Linked DNA regions of Homo sapiens: all the other regions are linked to region 1. The links are contacts of gene promoters, found by promoter capture Hi-C in blood cells and fetal thymus (Javierre and others, 2016). All regions are on one chromosome and are shown on one strand. The core of a region is centred on a gene start or on the middle of the fragment in contact, and the rest is flanking DNA. Distances in the headings are between cores, read along the strand shown. Region 1 holds the start of ZNF229 (zinc finger protein 229). Region 2 holds the start of ZNF283 (zinc finger protein 283). Region 3 overlaps ZNF283 (zinc finger protein 283). Region 4 has its middle 16 kb from the start of ZNF404. Region 5 has its middle 5.5 kb from the start of ZNF404. Region 6 overlaps ZNF45-AS1 (ZNF45 antisense RNA 1). Region 7 overlaps ZNF45 (zinc finger protein 45).

Region 1 (3,248 bases), core at 191-2,690:
CCAGGTCTTACCTGTTAAGTTTTTTTAACTTTTTAAACCTTAGCAACTCATCTGTGACATGGGGATAATAGCTAACATACAAACTTGCTCAGAAAATTCAATAGAAATACATTCATTTATTCAAATATTTATTGGCAAGCCTGGCACTGTCCTAGACACCATGGATAAATAATACCTGGCATATAGTAAGCACTCAGTTAATATACACCATCACAGTTACTCTAATTATTTCTACCCTGCGTTTCTTCAGCATGGCGCTGAAACAGTGTAAGCCTTTACTGACCCAGTGACACACTACTAGGAGCCAAGAAGAGAATACACTAAATAAAGACACTGGGAAATTCCTCAAACCTCCCCCATTTCTAGGGGAAGGCAGGTGTGGCTAAGGGGTCTGAATGAACATTTGTGATATCAATGGGATGAAGAATGAGGTCACCAAGAGACCTGGCATTGCCACAAAAGAGAACCAAAGTTCACTCACCTGGAGCTCTAGTGTCAAGAGATGTGGGGTTATTTCTCCTTCTTTTATACAATTATCTCCGAGAAACGAACAATTCCAAGAAGGAAGCCTGTGAAAGAAAAATGAACAGCAGGATAACATGATTTAATCCCAATTCCCACCACGCCACAGGGGGAAATCTCTCAGTGCCAGCTGGATGTAATCTACCCCTTCCTGTAATCTACCCTCGCTACTTGCTTCAGGAGCCGAGGAAAAGAACCTCTCTTCCTACAGGACTCAGAGTACAAGGGACACGCCATTCCTGATGCCCAAAGAAACCGTCTACAAGCCTACTTTCACTGCCCCTTTCAGGAGACAAGGAGAATCAAGACAAAATCTCAAGATTTTAATCCAGAGCTGACTGTCACATGCTGTGGGACACTTACAAGTGAAATTCTGCCTGTGTGTGCTTAGGCGGCTACAAAAAGCAGAGCCAGCAACGATACAGCAAACCAACTCCTAGGACTTGCACAGCGCTTAATACATTTCAAAGGATAAAATTAGAACACAGGGAATCAACTTCCTGTTTACAGAAATGACTTCGCAGAAAACTCTGAAATTACTCCACAAGTGGGTGGGCGGCTACCCTGAGAAAATTCATGTCATCGATCCGCAACTGACACAGTGGAGTCTCCCGCACTGCAGATCTCATCTCAAAGCCAGAGCTGGCCTCAAACTGCTTTTCCAAGCCTGGACTGCGAGGGCTGCCGACCCGGGCCCACCCCGCACAGGCGCTCAGAATGTTCGATACGTGCGCCTCCTTACACCCCTGCCTCACCAGGCCGAGCTCATGGAAATCCGTGGGCTTCGACCCTCCGCCGCACGTTGTCCCTTCACACTGGTCCTATAGAGCCGATCCTAATTCCCATGGCCTGACAGTACAACCGCATGGAGATGCACGTCTCTAAGACGCCTCACCACTGCCTAAGAAGCAATCAAGGTGACGCGCCCACCGGAAACGGAAGTAGTCGACTCGAGGTGTGGGACTACCTTTCCCAGAACCCTCCGCAGCGCAGTCCGATCCTAGGGGCGATGGTGTCGTAAATGCGCGTCCACCTCGAGTCACGCCCACTGCGAGGCGGCGGGAGGCGGCATGCAAGGTGTTTCTGAGTTGAAAAGAATGTCTTTACTCAGTACTAACATATTCGCGTTGTAGCAAACCTGACTATATTCTCAAACAAGCCCATCATCCCATCACCAGGGATATAAAGCATTATTGATTTTCTGGTGTAAAAGCCAACTAAATATTTATTTCAAAAGTAGTTCATATTACATGTAAAGAATGGTTTAAAAAAAATTCTTACTTAATCCCTGGTTTATGTGAGTAAATATGAATTCTTAAGAATCCCATTTCCCAAATGGCATCATAATATTTTGTAATCATTTCTTGCCACAGGTCATATATCGTGGATAGTTCTGTATGTCACAAAAGACGTAGAGATACATAGAGATAATAAAAAAACACAAATTATTTGCAATACTTGCCTAGCATTCTTTAGTTTTTAGGGAAGTTACCCCTTTGTCCTGCATTGAACTTACACTTCTAATTTTATGATATCAAAACTACACACAATCACTTTCTTTAATATTTTCCCAATTTGATGGACTAAATATCCTGTCTTATTTTCCCAATTTGACAGAGTAAATATGCTTATTACCGATTGCATTTCATTGTCATCTTTTATTGTCATACACTCTCTGTGTATGAATGATATCGCTTCTAAGTGATGAATTGCTCCCCCAGTTTCAACATTTATAAAGTAGTTTAGAAAAAAAAAAAAACAAAAAACTTCATCTGACAAGGTATATCAGTCTTTTCATTTGTGGCTTCTTTTTTTTCTCCAGTATGACCAAAAAGACATTCCTTAGCCTGATTCCCAATAAGTGCATATCTATATTCATTTCAGGCTCTTTCATTTTTCTTTTGAATCACCGCGTGATTCATTTAAGTGTATGATATGAAAGGAAGATGGAGTTTCCTGTTTCACCAAAGGATTGTCTACTTTTCTTAACAAAATTTACATAAATATTAATTCTTTCCTTTCTGATTTAAACGGCATCCTAATCACTTACTACATTACTATATATATAATGAAATATTTTCTGGGATACAAGTGTGTTCTGAAGATAGAGATTGCTTTTTCTGTGCCATGATGAAAGGTTTCAGTTACAGTGATAACTCATTTCCTTATCTCTCCCTCCTTGTTGTGTTTCAAAAATTTCATCCTAGAAGTTCTAGAACTCTCTCTTATAAACAGATTATCGAATTGTTTTGATAAATTCTAAAAAATTGCCAATTGACTCCAAAGCATCCAAGCCCTTCAGATATTTGGTTCCAAACCCACCCCTCTTTGCTTGGGTAGACACAGTCCTACTTCCCATCCTGTGTCCTCCAGTTTTACAAATGTCTGAATTTGCTGCTATTGTTCTTCCCTCTGTAAGTCCATCCTTTCCTGTACTATTAAAATCTTACTCCATATTTAAGACACAACTTGAATATAATTTCCTCTATCGAGTGTTTTTGAACTCTATATCATAATTCAATGAACAGATCAGTCTGTGATTGGGAGAATTTCATGCGAGTGTAGTGGATGTTAAATACCACTCTCAGAACATTCTCATTTCCCCGAGAAATCAATAAATTATATTACTCTGGGATCCAGCAACACATGGTTTAAATTGCTGGTTACCACCTTTCACATGGCCTCCATGGTCAGATCTCTAAGTCATCAAAATAATTGACTCTTCT
Region 2 (3,248 bases), core at 273-2,772, 620 kb before region 1:
GACTAAAAATTGGGTGCCATGTACACTGTTCAGGTGATGGGTGCACCAAAATCTCACAAATCACCACTGAAGAAGTTACTCATGTAACCAAACACCACCTGTTTCCCAAAAACCTATGGAAATAAAAAATTAAAAAAAAATCAGACCCCCAAAATATTCAGAGTAGTACTTGTGGGAGTCATTGAGCAAGTAACATGGGAAGAGAGGAGGCTGCTTCCACCAGTGGTTTTGGAGGTGGAGCAGATGCTGATGATAATGAAGTCCCAGATGGGAAACGGGGATGGGTGCCGAGGAAAGCTCAAGGACCCTGCAGATGAGGACTCAGACCCACGATACTGGATGAGGCATCCATGTCACCATGGGAGTCAACCAGGGTAGTGGCCTCAGCTGAGGCAGGGGAAAAGCTGGGATCCAAGAGCTCTAGTCTTCTCTTGATAAGCAAGAGAGACCAGGAGGTGAGAGATGGCAGAGGATGAGAGAGGTGATATCAGTGACCAGAAAGAGCCCCTAAAAAGTAACTTCCTTTTCTTTCTGTTAGTTTTAATATAAAATTTCGCTTTAATATTTTTAGACAATTCTTTTTTAAAAAAGTATTTATATCCAAAGGTTCTTACCACACCAACCACAGCCCCAATCTTTTTGCCCTAACCTCAGAATCAGTTAGTTGTCTCCTTTAAAACCTTTCTCTCTCTCACACACCCACACACACACACACGCAAACACACAGGAGAGAGAGAGAGGGAATATATAGTATTGTTTTTGGAGTATGAGTGTGTGCTTCAGAATAAATGGTTTCATACTCTATAAAAAATGAGATTCAAATTTTATAATCCATCAAGTTTTATTGGAACACAGCCATGCTGGATTGCTTGTGCATTGTTTATGGCCGCCTTTGCACTGCCATAAGTCTCCACGGTCACAATATCCACTCACTACCACTTATTGTTGTCTTTCAACAGCGGCATATAAAATCTGTAACACAGTTCATCTCACACCTAATAAAACAGACTCACACAGGCATAAATTTAGAAAACATCCCATGAACATAAACAGGTCCACGCAGGGTCCCAGACACCGAATCGAACTAAGAAACTCCCTCACAGCAAGACACACCCATCTGTTCAATTGCCAGACACTGTTCCAGGCGCTCATACCCAGGTAAACTGGTAGTGTCGCGCAGGTCATTTCCAGCGAACTTACCCCGGATTCCCTTGCTCGCTCACGTCTAAGTCCCCAGACACCCCAGTCCCATCTTCGCCTGTTCTAGACTCCAGAATGCGTTCCTTAGCGAAAGCTGAGAACCTTTTAATTCGCTCTCAGTCAACACCAAAGACCCTCAAGCAAAAGCAAGAGCTCCCGGGCGTCTTCGAAAAAAGCGCCTTTGACAGGTGAAGCCAAGTTGCATGCTGGGAGCATCCCTGCTGTCCAGGTTTCAACTTCCGGAGACTCTGCCGCTGTGGACTACATTTCCCAGAAGTCTCCGGGGCACAGGCCTTTTAGGGGCGGGGCGAGCTTGCCTGCCAGAAGCTCCTCTCCCAGCCTGCGAGCATTTCCAGGCTCTTGTTTCCCATCAGCCTCTGGGTCCAAACTAACCACAGGTCTCTGGGTCCTTTTCCGGTGTCCTTAAGGTTCTTGGACTCTGCATGGTGAGTTGGTCGTGTCTGTAGAAGTAATCAGCCCGGGTGAAGCTGGGAGGGCTCGGCTGGCTTTACTGGGGCCCGACTGGAACCGGCAGTGAGGGTGGGGGTGGCATCGGGGGTGCTGGAGGTGGGGAGGGCTGGGTCACGGACAGAGCGTGTCGTGTCCGGATCCTCAAGCCTGTGTGCACGCGAGCAGCCGAGGGACAGTGTGTCTCAGACGGCGTGGCAGGGACGGGGCGTGTCCCCACGGAGGTGGGTGCAGTTGTGAATGTGTGACGGGCTGACAGGGTGCGTGGCCGTATTTGTAAATGTGATTTGCTTTGACCAAATGCTCTAGGTTCCCTTTAGCCTGTCTTCGGGCCTGCCACAATTAAATGACCGCAAGAAAGAAGTCTATGCTAAGCCCCATAATGAACGTTTCAAGCAAGAAGGATGAGAATTTTAGATCTGGAAGTGTCCGCGGGACAGGATCTTGTCAAGACCTGATGGGGAAGTTCTAGAGGTGGGATTCCTAGAAGAGGGGCCTCTAGGAGCTCTTTGGTGGTGAGCTACATGTTTCAGAGCCATTGCAAGCAGACCTCTGTCCCCAAGAATTGCCCTCAACACAGAGACAGACTCTAGCCTCCCTTTTCATTCCGTTTGGTTTTGTGTGGATGAAGGCAGAAGTGGCCCCAGAGGGTGTTTTGCTCTTCTTTTTCTTTTTTAATTAAGTCTGTGACGCGCTAGAAATGCTGATGTCTCATGTTACTGTTTTTTCCCCCAGTGCTGCCAGGTTGCCAGATTTCTAAGAAGGAGTTTGAAGAGGAGAAAAGGATTTTTGCATGTTTAGAAATCAAGGTTCAGGTGAGGTTTTTTATACATACTTTTTAAATACATACACATACAATTACCTTTGCTTCTAGGTCATGAGAACATTTTCTTTCCTTGGCCTGAAATATCTTGACTGGGTTTTCCCAGTTACATGACCCGCCATGCTGGTACATATTTCCTCCCAGTGGCCCCCTATTGTTCTTCTCCACAATTCTTACCCACCTGTTCATATGGCAAATTGTTCAAATACTTCAGTGCATTATGATGCACTGAAGAGTTATAGAAAGGCACCTCTTGTAGATTGCTATTAGAGCATTATTTTATACTATGATTATTTGAAGAGATTAGTAATTAGGTGGTGTTATATAAACATTATTTTTTATCTTTTCTGTAGTCATAATTAAAATTTTTTTTTAACTTTTTTTAGAGACAAGGTCTCACTCTGTTGCCCAGGCTGAGTGCAGTAGTATAGTCATAGCTCAGTGCAACCTTGAAGTCCTGGGCTCAGGTGTTCCTCTGGCCTTGGCGTCCCAAAGTGCTGGGACTGCAGGTGTGAGCCACCATGCCTGGCCCATAGTCATGATGCTTAAAGAAAGGCAAGGTATAAGGGATTTTAAGTAAGGGAATGTTTCTGGCAGTAAATGACAATGTTGTCTGCTTTGTGAGGCTTTTAGGGGTGGAAATATGATTGAGCTTTGAACATAGGGATTTGTAATTTGCACCAACAAGAGTGGGGACTTTCAGATAATCTTTAGATAGAAATCTGTAACATTTCCAAGCATGACTTGTTTGAAGTCC
Region 3 (3,248 bases), core at 325-2,824, 600 kb before region 1:
TATTTGACTCTTAAAATTTGAAGCATACACAGAAGTGTGGCAAAATTATGCAGATTTATTTTCTTCATGTATTGAAGAAAAAGAATAATACTTTAATTTCCTCATATAGAGTGGACAGTTTACTCCAAGATCATCATTTTCCCTTAGCTAGCAGTCTTTTCTATCATATCATACTTATGTCACTTTTTTCATACATTATATGACATAGCATTTCCCATATGCATTTAAACCTGCTAATATTGTCAATATACCATGCTGAATGACACTATAATTTAAAGCTTTATTTTCAATTTTAAAATATAATTAACAGTATTAATGTGTTATAAGATGATGTGTGTATCACATTGATTTTTGACAGGGTAGTTTGAGCTTAGTTGAGTGAAAATATGTTTAACAATGGTCAAGAAATAAGTAAACTTAATTGAAAAATAACTCAAAATATTTGTTCTTCCTCTTTTATGAATATCTTCTTAGGAACTTTTTATGCAACCAGAAATTATTTATTAGTAACTCTCAAGATCATTTTGTCTAAGTGAATTGGAGATCTTATAATTTAAAGTGATCCTTAAATAGCAATACAATTACTGTTGATTTTTAAAATTGATAGACATTTAAAATTTTTAAATAAGGTAAAATCTATAGAGTCACATAATTGCAGCATTATATGAAGTTATAAAAATCAATCCTTTTATAAAAATTCTGGCTAATAAATCTAAGTAAATGTAAAATTTAATTGAACTTTATATTTTTACAATTGTGAACATTTATGAAAGCAATGTTTGCTTTATCTCAGGGGTTGGAAAACTCTGGCTCTGGAGGCCAAATCCACCTGTTTTTGCAAATAAAGTTGTATTGGAACATAGTCTTGCCCATTTGTTTATATGTTTACATATTGCCCATGGCTGCCTTGATAAAATGGCAGAGTTGCGACCATTGAGTTGTTAGACAAAAGAGTTGTTAGACAAAACAAAATCAGCCAAAGCTCATTATGATAAGAATTTGATTCCCATTAAGATACATTGGATGACCACAACTGGGCACATAAGGGCTTGATTGATGGAAGCTGACATTTGGTTTGAGGGAACATCAGCGTGGGAAAATGAGGGACTTGTTGAAGCGACCTCTGTGGAATCCTCCAGAAAACTATAAAATCAGAACATTCAGATCACAAGAGCTGCAAAATCAAGGCTGAGTTTGTTATTTAACAAGGGAGTGCCTTAATGCCAAGGAGTGAGTTCAGTAAGTCTCCTAATTTGTCTTTTATTTCTACTGTAGTTTTTTTTTTTTTTTCCCTAGTGAAGGAAATAAAATGTGTGGTTTTCTTGTTTTCTTTCAGATTTGGAGTCAAAAACGTATGAGACCAAAAAAATATTTTCAGAAAATGATATTTTTGAAATAAATTTTTCCCAGTGGGAGATGAAGGACAAAAGTAAAACCCTTGGCCTTGAGGCATCCATCTTCAGAAATAATTGGAAGTGCAAAAGCATATTCGAGGGACTAAAAGGACATCAAGAGGGATACTTCAGTCAAATGATAATCAGCTATGAAAAAATACCTTCTTACAGAAAAAGTAAATCTCTTACTCCACATCAAAGAATTCATAATACAGAGAAATCCTATGTTTGTAAGGAATGTGGGAAGGCTTGCAGTCATGGCTCAAAACTTGTTCAACATGAGAGAACTCATACAGCTGAAAAACACTTTGAATGTAAAGAATGTGGGAAGAATTATTTAAGTGCCTATCAACTCAATGTGCATCAGAGATTTCATACTGGTGAGAAACCCTATGAGTGTAAGGAATGTGGGAAGACCTTTAGCTGGGGATCAAGCCTTGTTAAACATGAGAGAATTCACACTGGTGAGAAACCCTATGAATGTAAAGAATGTGGGAAGGCCTTTAGTCGTGGCTATCACCTTACCCAACATCAGAAAATTCATACTGGTGTGAAATCTTATAAATGTAAGGAATGTGGGAAGGCCTTTTTTTGGGGCTCAAGCCTTGCTAAACATGAGATAATTCATACAGGTGAGAAACCTTATAAATGTAAAGAATGTGGGAAGGCCTTCAGTCGTGGCTATCAGCTTACTCAGCATCAGAAAATCCATACTGGTAAGAAACCTTATGAATGTAAAATATGTGGAAAGGCTTTTTGTTGGGGCTATCAACTTACTCGACATCAGATATTTCATACTGGTGAGAAACCCTATGAATGCAAGGAATGTGGGAAGGCTTTTAATTGCGGATCAAGTCTTATTCAACATGAAAGAATTCATACTGGTGAGAAACCTTATGAATGTAAAGAATGTGGAAAGGCCTTTAGTCGTGGCTATCACCTTTCTCAACATCAGAAAATCCATACTGGTGAGAAACCTTTTGAATGTAAGGAATGTGGGAAGGCCTTTAGTTGGGGTTCAAGCCTTGTTAAACATGAGAGAGTTCATACTGGTGAGAAATCCCATGAATGTAAAGAATGCGGAAAGACCTTTTGTAGTGGGTATCAACTTACTCGACATCAGGTATTTCACACTGGTGAGAAACCCTATGAATGTAAGGAATGTGGGAAGGCTTTTAATTGTGGATCAAGCCTTGTTCAACATGAAAGAATCCATACAGGGGAGAAACCCTATGAATGTAAAGAATGTGGGAAGGCTTTTAGTCGTGGCTATCACCTTACTCAACATCAGAAAATTCATACCGGTGAGAAACCTTTCAAATGTAAGGAATGTGGGAAGGCCTTCAGTTGGGGTTCAAGCCTAGTTAAGCATGAGAGAGTCCATACTAATGAGAAGTCTTATGAATGTAAAGACTGTGGGAAGGCCTTTGGTAGTGGCTATCAACTTAGTGTTCATCAGAGATTTCATACTGGTGAGAAGCTTTATCAACGTAAGGAATTCGGGAAGACCTTTACTTGTGGCTCAAAACTTGTTCATGAGAGAACTCATAGTAATGATAAACCCTACAAATATAACGAATGTGGGGAAGCCTTTCTGTGGACAACTTACTCAAATGAGAAAATTGATACTGATGAAACCTTATGATTGAAAGTTGTAAAAGAATATTTTGTGTGTGTGTATAGACAACTTATCATAATAAGAACTCTTACTCTTGAGAAACCTTGTGAATGTAAGGGTTGTGCAAAAGCCATTCATTTCTGTTTATGGGCAATTATCTTGCTATCCAGCAATTCATACTAGTGAGAAATATTTTGAATATAATTAATATGAAAAGGCCTTTAGACTTCTGTACA
Region 4 (3,248 bases), core at 205-2,704, 580 kb before region 1:
ACAGGGACATTTTAAGTTTGCAGAGGTTACTGCTATCTTTTTGTTTGTCTGTGCCCTGCCCCCAGAGGTGGAGCCTACAGATGCAGGCAGGCCTCCTTGAGCTGTGGTGGGCTCCACCCAGTTCGAACTTCCCGGCTGCTTTGTTTACCTAATCAAGCCTGGGCAATGGCAGGCGCCCCTCCCCCAGCCTCGCTGCCGCCTTGCAGTTTGATCTCAGACTGCTGTGCTAGCAATCAGCGAGACTCCGTGGGTGTAGGACCCTCCGAGCCAGGTGCGGGATATAATCTCGTGGTGCGCCGTTTTTTTAAGCCCGCCGGAAAAGCGCAGTATTCGGGTGGGAGTGACCCGATTTTCCAGGTGCCATCCGTCACTCCGTTCTTTGACTTGGAAAGGGAACTCCCTGACCCCTTGCACTTCCCAAGTGAGGCATTGCCTCGCCCTGCTTCTGCTCCCGCACGGTGCGCGCACCCACTGACCTGCGCCCACTGTCTGGCACTCCCTAGTGGGATGAACCCGGTACCTCAGATGGAAATGCAGAAATCACCGTCTTCTGCGACGCTCACGCTGGGAGCGGTAGACCGGAGCTGTTCCTATTCGGCCATCTTCAAAACTTTGGGATATTTAGCTTACCTTGTTTCAAAGCTTAATATAAAGCTATTTCATAGAGTGTAGTATTTGTATAAGGAAAGTTAAATATATCAGTGTAACAGAAGACAGGCTCCAGAAATAATTCCAAATATATACAACCAATTGATTTATAAGAGTCACCTATGCAAATCAATGAGGGAAATAATTTTTTATCTTAAAAAATCTATTTGGAGAGATTTTATAATAAAAAAATTCCTGCAAACTATTCAAAAATCCATCAATAGAAGAACAGATGAATAAACTATGGTATATTCATACCTTGAATATTACTAAATAGTAAAAAGCTATAAACTACTAATCTAAGGAATAACATAGCAGAATCTCAAATTTTTCTATTGAATGAAAGAATTAAGGAATAGTAGTATTCATAATGTATGATTCCATTTACATGAAGATCAAGATAAGGTAAAACACATTAATTGTAATAGAAATCAGAACAACAGTAGCCTTAGGAGAATGAAAGATAAGAAGCAAGAGAGAACTTTTAGGAATGATGGAAATGTTCTGTAAGTGTCTTCCTGTTGCAGATACTCTGAATTTTTGATGAGTTGGGGATGAGTCCTTACGTGGAAACATTCATGGAAAGTATTAGCTCTGGGTTTTTTTTTTTGTTTTATTTTTTGTTTTTGACAAGAGCTCACTCTGTTGCCCAGGTTGGAGGGCAGTGGCACCATTTCGGCTCACTGCAACCTCCGCCTCCCAAGTTCAAGCAATTCTTGTGCTTCGGCCTCCTGAGGAGCTGGGATTACAGGCATGCATCACTGCACCAGGCTAATTTTTGTATTTCTAGTAACGTCGGGGTTTTGCCATGTTGGCCGGGCCAAGAACTCCTGGCCTCAAGTGATCCGCCTGCCTCAGCCTTCCAAATGCTGAGATTACAGGTGTGAGCCATTGTGCCCTGCCTTGATGTATTTATTTGAATACTTCAAAAAGAAGAAGAGTTACAGTGATACTAAGGAAATAATTATTAGTAATTAAATGGAAATACTTAGTACTTTATAATTAAATTATTATTCTAGGTTGAAAAGTAAGTATGGACAAAATTTAAAATTTAAAATAAATGAAGGCATATTACACAGAATTGAGTGGAGACCAGTACTATGGTCAGAATTGTAAAAAATGAGCCTGGAAGATAATATACTATGAATTTCATGATGAATGTCAATTGCAATTTGCTGTGAGAGAGCAAAAAAAAAAAGCTGTTTATTACATAACAAATTAAATTGTTAAAGAGAAAAATATTGTGAAACATTTTCAGCAAATACATAGTAAATTTGATGAGACGTTTTCTCTTGAGAAGCAAAATGGAATAGATGAAGTTAGTTGCCTGAAATTAGAATTAAATGTCCAACCAAAATATTTAAACAATTTTTAAACAGAATCTGAGTTTATAACCTTTTTGAGCTATAAAATGGCTCTGATTCTTGCACAAAAAAGAAATGTTGGATATAGAGATAAGATAAATTATTAGTTTGGTTGCAAAAATCTTGTTAGCATATTCTGAGAAAGACTAAAATGATCTTATAAAAAGTAAAAAAAAATTAAGTCACCTAAAAACTGCTCATAGAATACAAGATATTTCTAACAATATCATGGATCAATTAATTCAAAGTTAGCAAAAGCTTCAAGTACTCTTCTTTAGCCATATATGAGTTGTGCAATATAAGATAATTTAGCCCAATTGATACTGTGGGTACATTTTGTCTCAAAAGATCCCCAAATAAAAAAAGCTGTCAATTCGCAGCCTACAAAACCAGAGTCATGACATAGATATTTTTGTCTTTTATATCTGTCAAAGAAAAATTTCTGTTAGGTATCAAAAAATATTTCTATCACAATAGATGATACACCAGCTGTATTAGGTTAAAAATCTGAATTCCTTGGAATTTTAATGCAAGAGACTGATGTCTCCCTAACTGCTTTGCTCTACTGTATAAAGAATATACCTATGAAGTATATACATGTAAATATTATGAATCACGACTACTTCATGGAACTGTTAAAAGAAATAGAGGTCAGGCTTGGTGGCTGACGCCTGTAATCCCAGCATTTTGGGAGGCTGAGGGGGGCGATCATGAGGTCAGCAGATCAAGCCCATCCTGGCTAACACGGTGAAACCCCGTCTCTACTAAAACTACAAAAAATTAGCCAGGTGTGGTGGTGGGCACCTGTAGTCCCAGCTACTCGGGAGGCTGAGGAGAATGGCATGAACCTGGGAGGCGGAGCTTGCAGTGAGCCGAGATCGCGCCACTGCACTCCAGCCTAGGTGATAGAGTGAGACTCCGTCTCAAAAAAACATAACAAAACAAAACAAAAAAGAAATAGAGAACAATTAATCTTATGTTCTTTCCCAATGCTCATCTGTTTAATGGTGTAAGACATTTACAAAGATTTCTCGTACTTTGAACTCCAGTTCAAGATTTTCTTTAAAGAAAGTTTTCCAAATATTTAATAATAAAGGAAAAAGAAGACAGTGATTTTTTTTCTCACCAGTATCACATTGCATATGAATAAGCAAAATCTGAAACTCCAAGGAAAGGAAAGCTTTTTTTTCGTGACCTAGTGAAAATAATAGGAACATTCATTGAAATGAAAACTTT
Region 5 (3,248 bases), core at 476-2,975, 560 kb before region 1:
ACATAAAACAATGTATATTTTCTGAGCCTTTACAATTAGCTTAGAACTCAAAAAGAGGCAGTTCTCAAATGTTTCCAAATACAGACATACTGTGGAGATATTGCAGGCTTGGCCCCAGACCACCATGCTAAAGTGAACATTGCAGTAAAGTGAATCACATGAATTTTTTGGTTTCCCAGTGCATAGAAAAGATATGTTTATACTGTATTATTCAGTGTGTAATAGCATTATCCCTAAAAAATACGGTGCATACCTTAATTTAAATATACTTCATTGCTAAAAAATGCTAATGGTCATCTGAGCCTTCAGAGAGTCATAATCTTTTTGCTGGTGGAAGGTATTGCCTTGATGTTGATGGCTGCTGACTGATCAGGGTTGCTGAAGGGTGGGATGGCTATGACAGTTTCTTAAAAGAAGACAATAATGGGCCAGGTGCGGTGGCTCATGCCTGTAATCCCAGCATTTTGAGAAGCTGAGGTGGGTGGATCACAAGGTCAAGAGATCGAGACAATTCTAGCCAACATGGTGAAACTCTGTCTCTACTACAAATACAAACATTAGCTGGGCATGGTGGTACGCACCTGTAGTCCCAGCTACTCGCTCGGCAGGCTGAGGCAGAAGAAGCGCTTGAACCCAGGAGGCAGAGGTTGCAGTGAGCCGAGATCGCTCCACTGCACTCCAGCCTGGGTGACAGAGCGAGACTCTGTCTCAAAAAAAAAAAGGCAATAATGAAGTTTGCCACATCAATTGACTCTTCCTTTCACAAGAGATTTCTCTGTAGCATGTGATGCTGTTTGATAGCATTTTACCCACAGGGGATCTTTTTTCAAAATTGGGGTCAATCTTTTCCAACCCTGGTGCTGCTTTATCAACTAAGCTTGTGTACTATTCAAAATTGTTTGTTTTTATTTCAACAACATTCACAGCATTTTCACCAGGAGTAGATTCCATCTCAAGAAACCACTTTAATTGCTCATCTGTAAGAAGCAGCTCCTCATCCATTAAAGTTTTATCATGAGATTGCAGAAATTCAGCCACATCTTCAGGCTCCATGTCTAATTCTAGTTCTCTTGCTATTTTTGCCACATCTGCAGTTACTTCCTCTACTCAAGTCTTGAACCCCTCAAAGTTATCTGTGAGGGTTGGAATCAACTTCTTCCAAACTCCTGTTAAACATTTTGACCTCCTTCTATGAATCAGGAGTGTTCTTAATGGCATCTAGAATGTTAAATCCATTCCAGAAGCTTTTCAATTCACTTTGCCTAGATCCATTAGAGAAATCACAATCTATGGCAGCTAGAGTTTTATGAAATGTATTTCTTAAAAAATGAAACTTGAAAGTTGAAATTATTCCTTGATCCATGGGCTGCAGGGTGGATGTTGTGTTAGTAGGCATGAAAGCAAAATTAATCTTTTCCATACATCCCCAACAGAGCTCCTGGATGACCAGGTGGAACGTCAATCGGCAGTAATATTTTGAAAGGAGTCTTTTTTTTCCTTTCTGAGCATTGGGTCTCAACAGTGGGTTTAAAATATTGAGTAAGCCATGCCATAAACAGATGTGCTGTCATTCAGGCTTTGTTGTCCCATTTCTAGAGCACAGGCAGAGTAGATTTAGCACAATTCTTAAGGGCGCTAGAATTTTCAGAATAGTGAATGAGTATCACCTTCAACTTATAGTCACCAGCTGCATTAGCCTCTAATAAGAGAGTCAGCCTGTCCTTTGAAGCCAGGCATTGACTTCTCTCTAGCTATGAAAGTCCTAGATGGTATCTTCTTCCAACAGAAGACTGTTTTGTCTACATGGAAAATCTTTTGTTTAATGTAGCCACCTTCATCAATAATCTTAGCTAGATCTTCTGGACAACTGGCTGCAGCGTATATATCAGCATTTGCTGCTTCACCTTGCACTGTTATGTTATGGAGATGACTTTTTTCCTTAAACCTCATGAACCAACCTCTGCTAGCATCCAACCTTTCTTCTGTAGCTTCCTCATGTCTCTCAGACTTCACAAAATTGAAGACAGTTAGGTCTTTGCTCTGGCTTTGGCTTAAGGGAATTTTGTGGCTGGCTTGATCTTCTATGTGGACCACTAATCTTTCTCTGTATTGCAGTATCTCCATATGACTCGAGAAGCACTTTTCATTTCCTTCAAGAACTTTTCCTTTGCATTCACAACTAGGCTAACTGTTTGGCACAAGAGGTCAAGCTTTTGGCCCGTCTTGGCTTTTGACATGCCTTCCTCACTAAGCTTAATCACTTCTAGCTTTTGATTAAAAGTGAGAAACAGAGGACTCTTCCTTTCATTTGAACACTTAGAGGCTATTGTAGGGCTACTAACTGGCCTGATTTCAATATTGTTGTGTTTCAGGAAAACAAAGAGAGGAAGAGAGACAGGAATAGCTGGTCGGTGGAGCAGTCAGAAGACACATAACATATATTCATTCAGTTCACCGTCTTATATGGGTGTGGCTCACGGTGTCCCAAAGCAATTACAACAGTAACACCAAGGACCCTGATCACAGATCACCATAAAAATAATGGAAAAGTTTTAAATATTGCTAGAATTACAAAATGTGACAAAGAGACACAGAATGAGCACATGCTGTTGAAAAACAGAGACAATATACTTGCTGAATGCAGGGTTACCACAAATCTCAATTTGTAAAAATTGCAATATTTGCAAAGTGCAATAAAGCAACATGCAATAAAATGAGATGTGCCTGTGTAAAAGGCATACTTCTAAATAGTTACTGGTCAAATAATAAATCAATGGAAGCTAGAAAATATTTTGAGTTAAATGATAGTGAAAGTAAGATATATCAAAGCTTGTGAGACGCAGGTAAACCAATGCTTATGAAGATATAAGCTTTAAATATATGTTTTGTCAAAACAGAAAGGTTGAAAATCAGTGATATACATCAAGAAGCTTGAAAAGGAAAAGCAAATTAAACCTATAGAAAGTATAACATACCAAAAGTAACCAATAACACAAAAAACCCCAGATATACAATAAAGAAAAATCAATAAAGCCAAAGCTATTTCATTGAAGAGATTAATAAGAATAATAAACTTCTAGTTACACTGATCAAGAAAAAATTGCCAATATCAGGAATATAAAAGAAGATAACACTACCTATTTTACTACATACATTAAAATCAGAATTGTATGAACAACTTTATAACTTTCTAATAAACTTGAAAATGTAGATGAAATTTTAAAATTCCTTGAAAACACAATTTGAAC
Region 6 (3,248 bases), core at 548-3,047, 540 kb before region 1:
TTGTAATCCCCAGTGTTGACGGTAGGGCCTGGTGGGAGGTGAATAGATCGTGGGTGTGGAGTTCTCATGAATGGTTTAGCACTATCCGCCTTTGGTACTGTATAGTGAGTGAATTCTCAGGAGATCTGGTTGTTCGAAAGTACATGGCACCTCCTCCCTTGCTCTCTTCCTCCTGCTCCAGCCATGTGATTTGTGCCATAAGTAAAAGCTCCTTGAGACCTCCCCAGAAGCAGAAGCCACTGTGTTTCCTGTACAGCCTGCAGCACTGTGAGCAACTAAACCTCTTTTCTTTATAAATTACTCAGTCTTAGGGATTTCTTTATAGCAGTGTGAGAACAGACTAATATAGTGACCTAAGCTTTTACCTTAAGAAACAAGAAAAAAAGAACATCTGAAACCCAAAGTAGGCAGAAGGAAACAAAAAAAAGAGAGAAATCCATGAAATGTGCACACCTGTTCATGATAAAAAACACATTCAACAAATTAGAAATGGAAGGGAACTTCTTCAACATACCACCTATAAAACACCCACAGCCAATATCATACTTAATGGTGAAAGACAGAGTACTTTCTAAGATCAGGGACAAGACAAAGATGTGCACTCTCACCACTTTTTTTTTTTTTTTTTTTTTTTGAGACAGGAGTCTTGCCCTGTTGCCCAGGCTGGAGTACAGTGGCGCGATCTCAGCTCACGGCAACCTCCGCCTTCCGTGTTCAAGGGATTCCCCTGCCTCAGCCTCCTAGTAGCTGGAATTAAAGGCACCTACCACCACGCCCGTCTAATTTTTGTATTTTTAGTAGAGATGGGGTTTCACCATGTTGCCCAGGCTGGTCTTGAACTCCTGACCTCAAGTGATCTCCCTGCCTCAGTCTCTCAAAGTGCTGGAATTACAGGCATGAGCCACCACGCCCAGCCAACTCTCACCACTTCTATTTGATACATGCTGGAGGTTCTAGCCAGGGCAACTAGGCAAATAAATGAAATAAGAGACATCCATATGGAAATGAAGAAGTACAATGAAGAAGTAAAGCTATATTTGCAGATATGATTTTATATACATAAAGTCCTAAGGAAATCACAAAAAACTAATAAGACTAGTAAATGAGTTCAGCAAAGTTACAGGAAGATCAATATGCAAAAAAATTGTGTTCTTACACACTAGCAATGAATAATCAAAAAATGAAAGTAGGAAAACAATTCCATTTACAACAGAATTTGAAGAAAATACTTAAGGAATAAAGTTAACAAATGAAGAGGAAAGTTTGTACACTGAAAATTATAAAACATCATTGAAAGAAATTAAAGACGACCTAAATAAAAGGAAAGACATCTGTGGTTCATGGATAAGAAAAGTTAATATTGTTAAGATGCCAATACCTCCCAAATTGACCTATGGATTCAATGCAGTCCTTAACAATATCCTAGCTGGCTCCCCCCTCCCAACCCCACTGCCTCTAGAAATTGACCAGCTGATCCTAAATTCATATGGAGACACAAGGGACCCAAAATAACCAAAACAACTTTAGAAAGGAAGAACAAAGTTGGAGGACTCGCATTTCCCAATTTCAAAAGTTACTGGAAAACTACAGTGTGGTACTGGCACAAGGGTAGACATAGAGATGAGTGGAATAGATTTAAAAGTCCAGAAGTAAGTCTTGACACTGTCGATTCATTTTCAATAAGGGTGCTACGGCCATTTAGTAGGGGAAAGAATAGTCTTCTCAACAAATTATGGTAAGACAACTGGATATCTGTCTGCAAAGAAAGAATGAAGTTGGAATTCTACTTTATACCATACACAAAAATTAACTCACATCACTGACCTAAATCCTATAGGAGCTAACACTATAAAACTCTTCAAAGACAACACAGGGGCAAATCTTCATGAGCTTGGAATAGGCAATGATATTTTGGATACACCAAAAGCATAAGCAAAACAATAAATAGGAGTATATCAAAATTCAAACTTTTTACTGCAAATGATACCATCAAGAAAGTGACAAGATACCCACTGAATGGGAGACAATATTTGCCCATCATACATATGACAATGGACTTGTATCTAGAATACAAAAACTCTTAGAACTCAACAATAAAAAAAAAATGGATAATCCAATTTCTGGAAGTCAGTCAGATTTCTGGGATGATCACTCCCATCCTCACAACAACAACAACAACAAAAAAAACTAAAGAAATTAATTTTTTCTGGATCTGTCAGATAATAGAGGTCACAAGGCAAACCACCAGCCTTAAATCTGGAGAGACAAGCAAACGGAGATCAGCTTACTTGGAGCAGAAGGACCAAGGTAAGACCATTTAGGCGGGGAAAGAATATTGGTAACTAAGTGTTACCAATAACACTGCTAATTAAGTATTACCAGCTAATTGGTAATATTTACTAGCAGTGTAATTAAGTATTACCAGCTAATTGGTAACTAAGTGTTGGTAACTAAGTGTTACCAATTAGTTGATAACAAGTAATTAGCAATGCTATTGGTAGGAGCGCTTAATTGGTAATTTAGAGAATTCATTGGAGGCTAGCTTCAAAAATCTTCCAGGGACGCAGTCTTAGGGGGAGCCTCACACTTTCATGGAATTTACGTCCAGTAATGCTACTAGGTTCTCATGGTGAATTTACAAGAAAAATCTCATGTTTTGGAGGAGGACAAAAGTAACTATTTTGAAATACACTGAGAGTGTTCCACATAACAAAGGACTGCTATCCAAGGGAAATGACTTTATCAGATACTTATATAACTGGGGAGAAAGGCAATATGTCAACTCGCCTTCCTGTCTTACCTAAGGGGAAAACAGAAAGACTAAGAACTGCGTCTGAAGATCACAGGCCAGGGACTCAGGCCCACTAAAAGACAGATTAAATCATATGATTGTAGAACACTTCCCCTCTCCCCACACTTTACCACCATATCAATAGGATTCTTGTATAACAACAGGATAATAAAAGTGAGAAGGCTGCAAGACACAGATTCTATTTTTAAAGTTCTTAGGGAAATTCAAAGACAACAGGGAAGGAAAAAGAAGGGACACTACAGAAAGGTAAAACTGAAACCTCTGACACCTTCAGCTAAATCAAACATTAAACACAGCCCAACACCTAGCCAGATTAACATAAAACCTCACACTTAACTGAAGCTCCCACATTGCCTGCTATATAGCTGTCTACAGCTGTGTATTCTCCTGTCCTGCACAATGTAATCACACTCTGCAAGAAGCTAAAGCTTACTGG
Region 7 (3,248 bases), core at 397-2,896, 520 kb before region 1:
TTTTTTTTTGAGAGAGGGTCTTGCTCTGCTGCCCAGGCTGGAGTGCAGTGGCACAATCATGACTCACTAAAGCCTTGACCTCCTGGGCTCAAGCGATCCTCCCACCTCAGCCTCCCAAGTAGCTGGGACCACAGGTGTGCACCACAATGTCCAGCTAATTTTTTTACTTTTTGTAGAGACGAGGTCATGCTATGTTGCCCGAGCCAGTCTCAAACTCCTGAGCTCAAGTGATCCTCCTGCCTCAGCCTCCCAAAGTGCTGGGATTACAGGTGTGAGCCACCACACTCAGCTGATGAATTCTTTAGTAGAGGTTTTTTAACCTCTACTTTAACCTCGCCTTTAACCTCTGAAATACCTGTTATTCTCTCTTGGTTTCCCATACTTAATTTGAGGCTTTTGCAATAGTATTTAAGATTACAGTGGTCCTTCCTATCCATAGTTTTGCTTTCTGTGGTTTCAGTTACCTGAAGTCAACTATGGCCCAAAAATAGGTGAGTACAGTGCAGTAAGATATTCTGAGAGAGAGAGAGAGACCATGTTTATAGAACTTTTGTTACAGTATTTTATCATTATTCTATTTTATTATAAGTTATTGTTGTTAGTCTCTTACTGTGCCTAATTTATAAATTAAGCTTTATCATAAGTATGTAGGTAAAGGAAAAACATAGTATATTTAGGGTTCAGTAATATCTGAGGTTTAAGTCATTCACTGGGGGACTTGGAAGGTATCTGCTGTGGATAAGGGGGGACTACTGTACATAGATGACTGCTTTTTTTGATAGTAAAATATGTAACATAAAATTTACCATTTTAACCATTTTTTAAGTGGTTACATTCAGTAAGTACATTTACATTGTTGTGCAGCCATCACCACTATCCATCATCAGAATTTTTTATGTACCCATTAAGTAATAATTCCCCATTCCCCCTCCCAGCCCCTGATAACCACGTTATCTCTATGAATTTGACTATATGGACTGGTTTCTAAAAGGTATAAGACCTTGCAAAATTTGGCTGTGTAGAGTGGCTCATGCCTGTAATCCTAGCACTCTGGGAGGCCAAAGTGGGAGGACTGCTTGAGGCCAAGAGTTCAAGACCAACCTGGCCAACAGAGTGATCTCTAAAGAGAAAAAAAAAAAATCTAAAAAAAAAAAAAAAGACCTTGCAAAATTTACTTTAACAGTAGGGCCTTAAAAAGACTATCATAGAGACAGAGAAAATTTAATAAAAAATCATGACTCTGCAAGATTTATGCAACTATAAATTAGATAATGTCACTGAAATTAACAAGCTATAGGAAGCACAATAATAACAACAAAAATGGTGATATTTAACTAAATACATATTAGGGACCTTATGAAGAACTTGGCACATGATGTTTCATTAAGGTACTTCACACATACCTGTGAAGAAGCTACTGTTGTATCAGTTGTGTGACCTTGGTCCAAACACCTAAACTTCTGTGCCTATGCTCAGCTATAAGAAGGGAAATGAAAACAGGATGTTAATCATAGGATTACTGTGAGGAATCAATGAGTGAATTTATGCAATGCCCTTGGCATAGTACCTGGCATTTTAGGGAGTTCTCAACAGATGATAATGACGACAATTGTATCCATTTAACAGGCGAGGAAGCTGAGGCTTGGTGAGGTCAAGAGGCAGGAACAGTACCTGAATCCAGCTTTCATACCAGAGCCAGTATTCTAAATCTTGTCTCTCTGTTGCTTCTAAAGACAAAAATAAGCAGATGGGAGTCTAAGATCTCATGGAAGGAGAAATGAGGGCTCCAGAGTTAGGGGTAAAAGACAGACACAGAAATGGAGATTGGACTCTGAAGCCAAGGGAGCTGCTTGAGGGAGTAGAGAACAGAGTTGTGAACAGTCTAGACTCCAGAACCAGCCCACCAGTACTGGAATACAGGCATGTCCAACTTGCTAGTACTTTGTGCTCTAATGTCTAATCTATAAACTGGATGTAATAATAATACCTACTTCATAGGAAGGTCAGTGAAAGTGACTAAGTATACACAAAACATGTGGAACAGTTTCTGGCAGCTTAAACAATCAATAGAAGTTACACATAAACCCATGCAGATGCTTTACATGAAACAGTCAGGGAGCCCCTCCCTTGCTGCTGTGGACCAATGTCTGTGTCCCCTCAAAATTCTTATGTTGAAGCCCTAATGTGATGTTATTGGGAGGTGGGGCCTTTAGGAGGTAATTAGGTCATGAGGGTGAAGCCTCCATAATGGGATTGCTTTCCTTGTAAGAAAAGCAAGTAACCTAGCTCTTTCTCTCTTCCTCCCAGGAAGATACAAGACAACAGCTTCTGCGAACCAGTAAGAGTGGCCTCATTAGACATTGGATTTGCCAGTGACTTGATCATGGACTTCCCAGTCTCCAGGACTGTGAGTTATAAAGGTTTGTTGTTTAAGCCACCCAGCCTATGGTATTGTTTGTTATAGCAGCACAAATGGACTAAGGCACTCACGGAGTCTGCAGCTTCACATGGCTTGATGATGGGGAAACATGGGCTGGATTCCAGATTCCACTTGACCCTTCAGCAGAGAGCCTCTGCACAGTGAAAAATGGAGTTCTTGTAGCTCTCAGGGTATGATTCTGATTCTATGGAGGGTGGAAACGAGTAAAATACCCAGATTAAAAGCTTAGTATTAGTTAATTACTGCTTGATTTATTAGTAAATTATTCTTAGTTCTCTTACTTCAGATAGAAGAACCCTTACTATTGAAAAGGGAAACATAAAACCTTCCAATCTTAGAAGAAATACTTATTTATTTATTTTTCTGAAATGGAGTCTTGCGCTGTGGCCCAGGCTGGAGTGCAGTGGAATGATCTCAGCTTACTGCAACCTCAGCCTTCCGGGTTCAAAAGATTATCCTGCCTCAGCCTCCCCAGTAGCTGGATTATGGGCACCCGCCACCATTCCTGGCTAATTTTTTTTGTTTCTTTTGTTTTTTTAGTACAGATGAGGTTTCACTATTTTGGCCAGGCTGGTCTCGACCTCCTGACCTCAAGTGATCCACCCGCCTTGGCCTCCCAAAGTGCTGGGATTATAGGCGTAAGCCACCACACCCAGCCTGAAATACTCTTTTAGAATTTGTAATTCACTTTGTTCTAACTCTATATTTGCCCAGCAACCTCTGCTCAGTAAGAATGTTTTGCAGGGGATATATTTCCATCGCCTCGGGAAAAAAAAGAGATAATAGCAAATCAACCATCTGTCTTGTG

What was found. The method cuts DNA at HindIII sites, captures the fragments that hold promoters and counts their contacts. A CHiCAGO score of 5 or more calls a contact.
Region 2: a contact is called between the fragment with the promoter of ZNF283 here and the fragment with the promoter of ZNF229 in region 1, in 9 of 17 cell types (erythroblasts, M2 macrophages, naive CD8 T cells and 6 more). The highest score is 16.4, in erythroblasts.
Region 3: a fragment that was not itself captured here is called in contact with the fragment with the promoter of ZNF229 in region 1 in 6 of 17 cell types (M2 macrophages, erythroblasts, M0 macrophages and 3 more); the score reaches 10.9 in M2 macrophages.
Region 4: a contact is called between a fragment that was not itself captured here and the fragment with the promoter of ZNF229 in region 1, in 7 of 17 cell types (M0 macrophages, M2 macrophages, M1 macrophages and 4 more). The highest score is 9.9, in M0 macrophages.
Region 5: a fragment that was not itself captured here is called in contact with the fragment with the promoter of ZNF229 in region 1 in 11 of 17 cell types (total CD8 T cells, M0 macrophages, M1 macrophages and 8 more); the score reaches 8.3 in total CD8 T cells.
Region 6: a contact is called between a fragment that was not itself captured here and the fragment with the promoter of ZNF229 in region 1, in 4 of 17 cell types (M0 macrophages, M2 macrophages, total B cells and 1 more). The highest score is 8.5, in M0 macrophages.
Region 7: a contact is called between a fragment that was not itself captured here and the fragment with the promoter of ZNF229 in region 1, in 8 of 17 cell types (M2 macrophages, naive B cells, megakaryocytes and 5 more). The highest score is 8.8, in M2 macrophages.

What each region holds. Positions count from the first base shown.
Region 1 is chr19:44,447,032-44,450,279 of GRCh38, forward strand. It overlaps ZNF229 (zinc finger protein 229), which reads right to left and starts at 1,441. Exons shown (of 6, transcript NM_014518.4): 1 at 1,278-1,441; 2 at 482-569. The HindIII fragment of the contact is 11,359 bases long and covers 1-3,248 here.
Region 2 is chr19:43,825,799-43,829,046 of GRCh38, forward strand. It overlaps ZNF283 (zinc finger protein 283), which reads left to right and starts at 1,523. Exons shown (of 7, transcript NM_181845.2): 1 at 1,523-1,646; 2 at 2,404-2,483. RefSeq lists an enhancer at 1,381-1,580. The HindIII fragment of the contact is 6,325 bases long and covers 1-3,248 here.
Region 3 is chr19:43,845,603-43,848,850 of GRCh38, forward strand. ZNF283 (zinc finger protein 283) reads left to right here. Exons shown (of 7, transcript NM_181845.2): 7 at 1,337-3,248. The coding sequence ends at 3,039. Among named protein-coding and RNA genes, the nearest start is that of ZNF283, 20 kb to the left of the region's middle. The HindIII fragment of the contact is 2,596 bases long and covers 277-2,872 here.
Region 4 is chr19:43,866,696-43,869,943 of GRCh38, forward strand. No RefSeq gene overlaps it. Among named protein-coding and RNA genes, the nearest start is that of ZNF404, 16 kb to the right of the region's middle. The HindIII fragment of the contact is 1,628 bases long and covers 641-2,268 here.
Region 5 is chr19:43,887,811-43,891,058 of GRCh38, forward strand. No RefSeq gene overlaps it. Among named protein-coding and RNA genes, the nearest start is that of ZNF404, 5.5 kb to the left of the region's middle. The HindIII fragment of the contact is 966 bases long and covers 1,243-2,208 here.
Region 6 is chr19:43,905,554-43,908,801 of GRCh38, forward strand. All of the region lies in intron 1 of ZNF45-AS1 (ZNF45 antisense RNA 1), which reads left to right. Among named protein-coding and RNA genes, the nearest start is that of ZNF45-AS1, 5.3 kb to the left of the region's middle. The HindIII fragment of the contact is 2,882 bases long and covers 357-3,238 here.
Region 7 is chr19:43,922,835-43,926,082 of GRCh38, forward strand. ZNF45 (zinc finger protein 45) reads right to left here. Exons shown (of 10, transcript NM_003425.4): 4 at 2,491-2,624; 5 at 1,568-1,727; 6 at 1,404-1,476. ZNF45-AS1 (ZNF45 antisense RNA 1) reads left to right here. Exons shown (of 3, transcript NR_184050.1): 2 at 2,308-2,420. Among named protein-coding and RNA genes, the nearest start is that of ZNF45, 11 kb to the right of the region's middle. The HindIII fragment of the contact is 2,032 bases long and covers 631-2,662 here.